2 separate regions of the Homo sapiens genome follow, and region 2 is linked to region 1. Evidence: promoter capture Hi-C in 16 types of primary human blood cells and fetal thymus (Javierre and others, 2016). All regions are on one chromosome and are shown on one strand. The core of a region is centred on a gene start or on the middle of the fragment in contact, and the rest is flanking DNA. Distances in the headings are between cores, read along the strand shown.

The links. The method cuts DNA at HindIII sites, captures the fragments that hold promoters and counts their contacts. A CHiCAGO score of 5 or more calls a contact.
Region 2: the fragment with the promoter of RND1 here is called in contact with the fragment with the promoter of WNT10B in region 1 in 8 of 17 cell types (activated CD4 T cells, M0 macrophages, erythroblasts and 5 more); the score reaches 8.5 in activated CD4 T cells.

What each region holds. Positions count from the first base shown.
Region 1 is chr12:48,969,286-48,974,397 of GRCh38, forward strand. WNT10B (Wnt family member 10B) reads right to left here and starts at 2,450. Exons shown (of 5, transcript NM_003394.4): 1 at 2,170-2,450; 2 at 1,171-1,284; 3 at 804-1,066. The coding sequence starts at 1,244. RefSeq lists silencers at 674-753, 2,221-2,515. The HindIII fragment of the contact is 10,147 bases long and covers 489-5,112 here.
Region 2 is chr12:48,863,022-48,868,133 of GRCh38, forward strand. RND1 (Rho family GTPase 1) reads right to left here and starts at 2,849. Exons shown (of 5, transcript NM_014470.4): 1 at 2,627-2,849; 2 at 1,762-1,849. The coding sequence starts at 2,746. RefSeq lists enhancers at 2,663-2,782, 3,043-3,172. The HindIII fragment of the contact is 16,374 bases long and covers 1-5,112 here.

The DNA.
Region 1 (5,112 bases), core at 1,200-3,699:
CCTAACTCCAACCCTCCAGGGGTGAAGCTGTTTGCACAAGTCTTGGGAATTCCCCTGCAGATGGCAGCTGCCTATTAACCCCATAGTCCCCAGAGCACTGCCCCCATCTCTGGGCTGAGCCCCCATGGGTCTTTACACCTCAGGGAGTGAACTCCAGTGGGAAACCAGGAGAGGCAGCCATGCCTCCCAGACCAGGCCAGCAGTGACCTGTTCTCTGCCTCTCCAGCCGTTCTTCACCTGCTCAGGTGAGCAACACCTGGAGCCCCCACAGCACAGAGGAGGGGACTGGCTCCCCAGCTTCAAAGTCATCAGGGTCTTTGTTCCCAGCTTTGGCTCCTGGGAACCCCAGCAATTAGGGGAGCAGATTTAACCCTTAAACGGTTGGGGGCGTCACCCCACCCCCGCTGAGACACTGGGGACACCAGCCTGGGCTTGTCCAGCCAAGATGGGGGGAGAGAAAATGGTGGAGGGAATAGGGGGGCGTTTGAAGCTTCCAGGACTGGGGGCATCTCTTGTTCACAGGTGCAACCCAGATTAAGCTGAGCGGAGGCAGGAAAGGGGGGCCCTAGGGTAGGAGAGCAGGGACCCAGCTGCCTCGCTGGCAGCACGCAGGTGGAAGTTAGGCGCGCAGGGGCCCAGACGAGTGGCCAGACCTGGCTCAGAGCGGCTCCGGGGGGGGCGGGGAATTCCAGGAGAGGCCCCTCCCGGAGCCGCGAAACCATCCCTTCCCGCCTCCGCGCGCCTCGCCCTGCCGCCCACCCCCTAGCCTCCGCGGCAGCGCCGACCCGCCCAGCCAGGCTCACCGCGCTTGAGGATGGCGCTGTGGTGCGGCAGGCGGCCGCCGCCCTCAAGCGCGGAGCAGTTCCAGCGCTGGTCGCGCAGCTGGTGCTGACACTCGTGGACCGCGATGTGCAGACCCTGAAGCGCGGACGCCGTCACGTCGGGGTTGCGCAGGCACAGGCCTAGCTGCCGCTTGCTCAGGCCGGACAGCGTCAAGCACACGGTGTTGGCCGTCAGCGGCGGCTCGCCAGGCAACTTCAGGCCCAGAATCTCATTGCTTAGAGCCCTGGGAACCAAGAAGGCGTCTGGGGTCTGCGGTCCAGACCCCTCCAACTCTCCCCACCCCGGGTCGGTGTTTCTATGGCCTGGGAGACAAGGGGAACTGCTCACCGACTGCACAACGCCAGGAACAGGAGACCCGCGAGGCCCGAGGGCGGAGGCCGCGGCCGGGGCTCCTCCAGCATGTCGAAGCCCGGAGGCTCCGGTGGGCAGATCGATCAGGACCTGCGGGACGGGAGACTTGATGCGGGTTCAGGAATAGGGCGGCTCGCTTGGGGAACCAAGTGACGCCCTTCTTCGGGCTCCTAACCCACCGGTGCCACCCTACTGACCCTTCTCATTCCTCCTCAAACAAAACAAGAAGAAACACCCCTTGATTCCCAGAGTCCCTGAGGCTTGGAGGTCTTAAAGAAGAAGAGTCAAGGCGTTGTCCCAGCTCAGGACTCAAGCGAGCACCCCTGGAACCTTGCCCAATCAGACACAACGCCCGGCACACAGACACACACTCACTTGCAAACTCAGACACACAGACTCACAAACACTTGCTCCACAACCTCGCCTACTGCTCCCTTTTCCAGGGCCCCACGACTAGCTTCCCCGCCCTCACAGGGCTAGGGAGAGGGATAGGGAGGAGGTTCCCCACCACCTAAGGGGGTGTCACCTCCAGGTGTCATCAAGGGCAAGTAGGCTCCATGAGAAAGGTCTAAGAATGAGTTCCCCACTCACACTGCCCCCTCCCTGAGCAGCAAGGAAAGAGGAGAGGCTCCAGGTGCAGGAAAGATGGGGAGGAGAGCCTGGCTCCCTCCTAAAAGGGACCGTGGCACAGACTGAGTCCTCTTCCCTATCCCCCACCTTGCCTAACTACAAGCTCCCCTCCTCCATAGTCGCCCGTCTGGTCCTCACCCCTTGGCTCTCACATTCATTGCATTCTAAATCTGGGGGCACTCCTTTATTCTCTGTGTCTTTATCTCTAGCAATATCTCTGGCTCTCTATGCGTCTCTGTGCTTCTGTGGGTGGATGCGTGTCTGTCTGTCTGTCTGACTACACACGTGCCTGTCTCTTCCTCGTGTGCACGTCCCTGCCCTCCCTGCTTTCCCAGGTCTAATTACCTCCAGTGGTTTGGGTGCGGGGTCCGAGACAGGCACGGTTGGGTTGCCTGGGCTTCACTAGTGCTGCTTAAACCGTGGGGAGACTGCGCTGGGTTCTGTCCCCTTGTCAGAGCCGCATTCTTCCAGGGCCGGGCCACTCCTCTTCACCGCTTCCCCAGCGCCGCCGCGGCCGCCGGGAGGAAGGGAGGGAGGAAGGGAGGGAGTGATCGAGAGAGCTAGCAAGCCGGCGAGCAAAGGACTGGGGGCTCTGGCTTTGCTCTCACCGAGCTCAGGGTGGCTCTGCCGGGCTGACGGAGCTGCAGCCCCTCCCCGAGCCTGGGGCTTCCCCACCCTACCCTCCACTCCCAGCCTTGACCAGGCGAATGCAGCCTCCCCCTCCTCCCAGCGCGCGCGCGCGCGCGCGCGCGCGCACACACACACACACACACACACACACACACACACACTCTCTCTCTCTCACACACCCTCTCCCCCGACGCCTGGGTTCAGGCTTGGCCCCACTGAAGAAGGAGGTGGCCAGAGTTCCTCTCACCTGATCTGGGGTCGCCAAGGCTGCAGGGAGGGTGTAGTAACCTTCCTAGGGAGCCAGAATGGGGCCCAGATGGCCACATCTTTCATCACTCCTCTTTGCGTCAGTTTCTCCACCAAGATCAGGGTGGCTGGAAGGTGCCTTTGACAAGATGAGGATGGAGCCAGACAGTCTTTGGGCTTCTCGGTGTGGGACAGTCACATGTGGCACCCACAGCCTGAGCGCACCCGGGGTACTCAGAGCGGGCAGGAGAAGCACACGTCTGGGCAGCTTGGTTCCCACCCTCCTCCAAGCCCTGCGCCTGCCCCTTTGGAGGGGACAGCTTTGGCCTCAGAGTTTGGCCCTAGCAGAGGTTCAAGTAGCACCAAAGATTGTCAGCCTGCCCCGATGCTTCCTTGCCTGGCAGGGATGCTTGCCAACAGAGGTATCCTACCCTTCTCGGGATTCCCCCGGTCTGCACTTTGGGTGGCCTGGATTCCTGCTCCAAGCTGTAGACTTGCTTCTTATGGGATGAGGAGGGCCTTGGGATCCAAAATTGAGCCAAGCCCAAGGGCAGCCGGGAAAGAGCCTGGTCTTGGGGTGCACAGGCAAAGGCAAACCGCCTTAGGGAGACCCAGTGGCAGCGAACGGGTTAGGCGCCACCGTGCTCCCGCCTGACTCACCCTCGAAGCTCTAACCACTGTGGGCTATTTTTGCCAGAGAGGGGCCCCAGGCTTTCCAGCCGCCCCCCGCCCCTGCCAGACCGCAGCCCAAGGCACGGCTGGCCCCACGCGCCCCAGGCACATTGACTCAGACTGCCCCCAAGCAAGCAGAGGAACAGGGATGATACCCACAACCACAGTCACCTCTTCCTTGGTGGTGGCGTTGCAGCTCTGCTGGGCAGCCAGCCTCCAGTCTGTGCTGCTGGAGGTCCTGCCCGTGCTGCAGGGGTCACTGTTGGATAGCGGGCACAGCAGTCTGAGACAGGAGATCGAGCAAACTTACATCTGTTGGGATATTTACAGATCACCTTTACGTGCCAGGCTGTGAGCAGTCTGGGGAGGTGAAAGTGCCATGGTCCCTGACACTGGACAGCCTGGACCAGACTGCTTTTCTCTGATTCCCTACCTCTGGGATGGGGAAGTGGGAGCACTAGAGTTCCTGACCCTCCTTCCCATTTAGAGGACAAGAGCCAAACCATGTGTGGTTTTGGAGGTCACCAGAATCTGCAAGCCCCATCTCATAGTTTTCATCCTTACACCTGGATTCATGATCCCCACCAGTGTCCTTATCCTTTTTCTTGCAGTCACCCTGGGATTCCTGCCAGGTCCTTGGAAGAGGGGAATGAGGTTGCCTAAGCCTCTCTTCTCCATGGGGACCTCATGGACATTTGTATTTCTCCATGTGTCTCTGGGTCCCCCTTAGGTTTGGGATTATTTTTTGCCTTCTGATTCTACCCTTGTCAGGCTCCAGCATACAGCCAGGTGCCAAGAAGGGGCGAGGGGCAGAACTACTACAATAGGTTTCAACTTCCTGGTGACCCTAGGTCTCCCCAAGCAGGACTGTTCCAAATCCAAGGACCCAGAGTCCTGCTCCTTCTCTCTACTGAAGCCCAACTCTGGGACAAGAGGCCACAGGCCGGCAGACTGGGTGGCCTGAGCTGGCCCGCAGTGCCCTCAGCCCGACCGGCTGGCCTGAGCACTGACCCGCAGGCGGCTAGAGGGCGGTGGGACAGGCGGGGCCTGGAGAGGGCTGTGGGTGCACACCCATTGCCTAATACCCCAAGCACGCGGCCAGCTCCAAGAAAGGGGAGGGACGGGAACCAGAGAGACCTTGACGTGGGTCAGGGCCAATGACAGGAGGGGGAAAGTGGGGGGCTTTCATCACTGCAGGGAGGGACTAGGAGCAAGCTGGTTCCCCTTCCCCTCAATGAGAAGAGTGGAGGGCTGCCCTTCCCATCCTAGGGATGGAGGGTGTAACGAGAGCAATGTGGGAAGAACACTGGGGCCCTGGAGGGCGGGGGTCAAAGAAAAGAGTGGGGGCCCCTGGAGATTGGGGGATGTCGAGCAACTGAGGCGGTGGCTAAAGCCTCAGAAGCCTCCTCCTCCTCCTCCCCCCATGTTTGCCTTGGCCCGGGGTCCCGGGTGACTCATCTGTTGCTGAGCCGCTGATAGGGGAGGCCAGACCCGGGGAACCCAAATTATAGGCCCAGGAGGGATGGATGCGCCCGTGGCGGTGAGCTCAGCTGCGCTGCCCACCCTCCGCTTAATGCGCCTTCTGCTGCAGCACCGTAGGCCACCACCTGGAGGCACCAAAGGGTCTGCGGGCCGACTGCATACTGGACTCTCAGGAAGGCCCCACTTTCAGCAGTCCACTCCAACAAATCCATGGGATTACCTTAGACAGAATTTTGCCCCCTTCTGTACTCAGGCCTA
Region 2 (5,112 bases), core at 1,599-4,098, 110 kb before region 1:
TGCCTGCTCCTTCAGCAAGCCTCCTCCATCCCTTTCTGAGGTGGGGTCTTACCACTGCAGCACTGAGGAGCGGAAGCACTGCAGCACTGGGGAAGGGGGAGGGGAGGAGGCCTCCATTTTGGCTCCAAGCAATCCCCCTCCCCTAAGACTAGCAAGTAAATAATGGGAACAGGGTCAACCCTGAGCCCAACATTGGGAAACCCTATCCCACACACCATGGCCACTTCCTCCTTCCTTATGGGAACCTAATCTGAAAGAGGGAGTTTGAGAATAACTGACAGCCTTTATCCTTTCGGAAATTGGGGGTGGGGGTGTGACACAGGGAACAGAGACTACACTTGCTGATTTTCCATGATCTGGTTTGGGATTTGAGGGCTGCATTCTGACTGTCAAAGGAGGGAGGAGGTGGGGGGAGGGCGTTTGGGCGGTGGTAGTGAAAAGAGATGAGCTGCAGTAAGATTCTGGGAAGATTGGAAGGTGGGAGGGTACAGCAGATGAAAAACCAAAAATTATACATCATGCCATCAAGCTGCATTCTAGCCCAATCTTGCCAGCATAGCACAGCCCAGGAGAACCAGAACGCTGCCTCCCAAGCCCTGAAACTGCAACAGGGAAAAGCATACCAGATTGGGGAATTTTTGTTTGGGGAGGAAAGGCTCATTGTCTGTCTAACCATTCCCTAGCCCCAATCTTTTCAGACCTCAGAATTAGAGCATGGGAACAACAGCTGTTGAAGGAGCAGGACAGCATATTTATTATATGTAGCAGGAAACACCTAGTGATTTACGGTCCCTTTTTAAACTCAGCCTGAATATGCATTTTTGGGGAGGGGTGGATTTTATTTTCTTTCTCTTATTCCCGGCTTTTACTCCTTAATTATGACTCTGAGCCAGTCTATTGAAAAAGGTCTGGGGTAAAGAGATAATGGGAAGGGGTCAGAATCAAGGCAAAGGATAGCCTAGCACTAAGGGCTTGGGGCTGAGAGGCTGGAAAAACATTGTTTCTACATTCTAGAGAGACAGGGCATATTCTACCTCACCCCAGTAGAGGGAAAACAGTCAGAGCCAACCTCCCCTCTGCCCTGCCGGCCACTATTCACAACTGACTATGCCCTATATTAAGCCATCTCCCCCAACTTCCAAAACATCGATGATGCATTGCTTCATCCCCGAGCTGCAGCGGTGTGACGAGTGGGGCTGAGCTGCGGCAGGAGGACAGCAGTGGCCCAAGATGGAATGCAGGAGACAAAACTGAGTCTGAGCAACCTTTCCCCAAAGCAGACTTGTCTCTCCGCCCCAACCACGCTGCCTCCAGCAGCACTGCCTCTTGCCTCTTATTTGGCTTTGCTCTGGGGAAGTAAAAGGTGTGTGTGTGTGTGTGTGTGTGTGTGTGTGTGCGCGCGCGCGCGTGTGTGTGCATGTGTGTACGCGTGCATGTTGGGTGGTAGGGAATGGAAATGGAGAAGTCCTGTTTTACTGCCCACCCCCAGGACTATTCATGGGTCCCTTCACCTCACCATCCCAGCCCTCTAAAGGGTGGAACCAGACCCAGGGAAGAGAGTGGCTCCTGGGGTTCACCCACTCTGCACCCTTGGACCATGCAACTGAGTCCACCAACTGTCAGCCCTCCCCACAACTAATGAGTCTTCAGATCCTCTTTTTTCACTTCTCCCCACCAAAGGGGAAAACAATTTCTAAAAGACAGCAGCTACACAGCAGACCAGTAGGGGTGGGAAAGGGGTATTTGGAGCAGAATTCTTACCTGAGGTATCCCAGAGACTAAGCTCCACCCTCTGTTCCTCTGTCTCCAAACAGGCTGTGTAATTTTCGAACACGGTGGGCACATAGGTCTGTGAAAAGAGAGGAAACATTCACCCCATGCACCCCTACCCTCAGATCCCCTGGTTAGTGCTGGCTACACACGCACTCACCAGAGAGACAGTAAAGTCACAGGAGACAAGAAACCAGAGGAGATGCCTGGGGCAGGAGGGAAGGGACTGTGGAGGACCAGGCACTTTGCTCTGCAGCAGTGAGAAATGTGAATGACACCCCCCCACACCACCACACCAGGGGTAAGCCCCCCATATCCTAGGCGATCAGGGACACACACACACACAGATTCCTCCCATCCCCAGATTTGTGTTTCCCAATTTGAGAGAGCCACAGGCCAAAGCCAATCCTAGCTCATCTCCTCTCAAACCCCTCCCGGCCAGGTGAACAGAGGGGCTGCAGAAGCCTGCCTGAAGGCACAGGCATAGAGCCTTTGAGGAGCAGGTGAGCGGATAGGCAGGGATTACGTCAAGAAGAAACCCCAGACTTTCAAATGCCTCCAGTGCCCTCACCTGAGAGCAGACTCCAGGGACGCAGGAAGGTGGAGGGGATCTGATGGGTCCTCTGGGTGAAGAGGTGAGGAGGAGCCAGCGGGGCGGCAGAAGTGGAACAGGTCTCAGGGGAAGCTAAGGCAGGGCAGTCCTCCAGCCAAAAAGCAGCTGAGGATGGTAAAGCCTCAGAAAGCGGCTGAGGATGGGCTGGGGCTGGGGGAGCCACGTCTCCTGAGCAGGTGGAAATCTACCCCAAGGCGGGCAGGCAGGGAGAAAAGCCGGCCAGCGGGCGGGCGGGCAGCTCACCTCTGGATAGCAATCCTTCGCTAACACTTGCAACATCGCGGTCTTCCCACACTGCACGTCCCCGACCAGAACGAGCTTACATCTGGCCACGACTGGCTGGGGGGCCCGTCTCTCCTTCATGGTTGCAGTGTCCGCGGGACTTGAACTTCGATTCAGAAGGGAGGGTTGCGCCAGGTGCGTCTCAGCACGCCAATCAAGCCAGATTCCCTGCCTCCCTCCAACTGAGGAGGAGGCCGGCACAGCCGCCTTTTATTTTTCTGGCTGAGCCAATCACAAGAGGAGGCGGACTCTGTTACGCCCAATCCCTGAGGTGGGATTCCCTCCAGCAGCCAATGGATCTGAGGATCTGAGTCAGCGCCCCCTTCCTCCCTTCTCTTTCTCTTAAAGCTGCACCGTTGTTTCCCCCTGAAAGGGGATTCCCAGGTTGTTTTGCATTTGTATTAGGAAGTGGAAAGGGTACTGGAAGCAAAATGAAATGATCTGGAGTGTCTACCAATAAGTGTCAGAAAAACAAACTAGCTATGGAAGCAGGAAGTGAGGTCAGGCTGGAGTTGCAGGGACTGTCCCGGGTGGGTTACAAAAGCAGGACCTGCTTAGACTATAGACAGGTGTGTGTGTGTGTGTGTGTTTTGGAGGAGTAGGGGATGGGGGAGGTGGCCCAGAACTTCTCTGACATTTTTTTTCTTTTTTTTCCTTACATCTTTTGTTTTAAATAGAGACAGGGGTCTCACCATGTTATCCAGGCTGGTCTTGAACTTCTGGGCTCAAGCAATCCGCCTGTCTCAGCCTCCCAAAGTGCTGGGACTACAGACATGAGCCACAGCGCCTGGCCTGATGTCTGACTTTTTTGTTTTTTCTAATTCCCATCCAAACCAGTTCTTACTTCCCTTTATTTCCCCTCCCAATATCAGCTCCTGCTGTACCTCTTTTATTTATTTATTTATTTATTTATTTATTTATTTATTTATTTATTTATTTATTTTGAGATGGAGTTTCGCTCTTGTTGCCCAGGCTGGAGTGCAATGGCACGATCTCAGCTCACTGCAACCTCCATCTCCCGGATTCAAGCGATTCTCCTGCCTCAGCCTCCCGAGTAGCTGGGATTACAGGCATGCACCACCATGCCCAGCTAATGTTGTATTTTTAGTAGAGACGGGGTTTCTCCATGTTGGTCAGGCTGGTCTCGAACTCCCGACCTCAGGCGATCCGCCCGCCTTGGCCTCCCAAAGTGCTGGGATTATAGGCGTCAGCCACCGTGCCCGGCCTGTGCCCCTTTTAAAGCCTTCTCTTCTTCAAGAATCACCTTCACCACCAAAGACAGAGAGAGAGAAAGAGAAAGAGAAAACTTTCTAGAGTCATCCATAAAAAAAACACACAGCACCTGACCCAGTGATGGGCAGAGAGAAATGAGGGACTCTGGCAAGTGGGGGTGGGAGAGAGGAAGAAGACAAAGCAAACACAGTCACTGTTTGGCCAGACAGCCTCTCACCCATGCCTAGCAGAAGCTGCTTAGGGGTGTTTGTTCTGCGGCCTAGGCTCAGCTTCCTGGATGAATCAGGCACAGGTCCAGTTCCATGTTAACGCCCACTGAAACTGACGCACTAATGTGTGTCACCTGGTTAAAGTCCAGACTGGGCCCAGGATTTTGGGATTAGAAGCTGGAGGACAATCTAAGGTTGAGATGAACTACATAAATTTTTTTTTTTTTTTTTTTTGAGATGGAGTCTCGCTCTGTTACCCGGGCTGGAGTGCAGTGGCTTGATCTCAGTTCACTGCAACCTCTGCCTCCCGGGTTCAAGCAATTCTCCTGTCTCAGCCTCCCGAGTAGCTGAGACTACAGGCGCACGTCACCATGCCTGGCTAATTTTTGTATTTTCAGTAGAGACAGGGTTTCACCATATTGGTCAGGCTGGTCTCAAACTCCTGACCTTAAGTGATCCACCCACATCGGCCTCCCAAAGTGCTGGGATTACAGGCGTGAGCCACCGCGCCCAGCCGAGCTTCATAACTTCTTAACAGCCCTGACTGATGGGGCCCCTGTATTTTGGGGAGCCTCTACTAGACAGAACTATGGGCTGTCCACAGCTTAAATAAACCACTGATTGTCCAGGAATCAAGACCGTACAAATAAGGGCTCCTGGAGATTTGTGATTGAAGGAAGACCAACTTTGGGCAAAATTGAGAGTAGTCCCTTTCCCTTGTCAAGCCCAGTGTCTCCTGGGCCTTGTTTCATCTGAGCTTTACTTTTTTTTTTTTTTTATACAGAGTCTTGCTCTTTCACCCAGGCTGGAATGCAGTGCCACAATCTCGGCTCACTGCAAACTGTGCCCGCCGGGTTCAATCGATTCTCCTACCTCAGCCTCCCGAGTAGCTGGGATTACAGGTGCCTGCCACCACACCCAGCTAATTTTTGTATTTTGAGTAGAGATGGGGTTTCGCCATGTTGGCCAGGCTGGTCATAAACTCCTAACCTTAGGTGATCCACC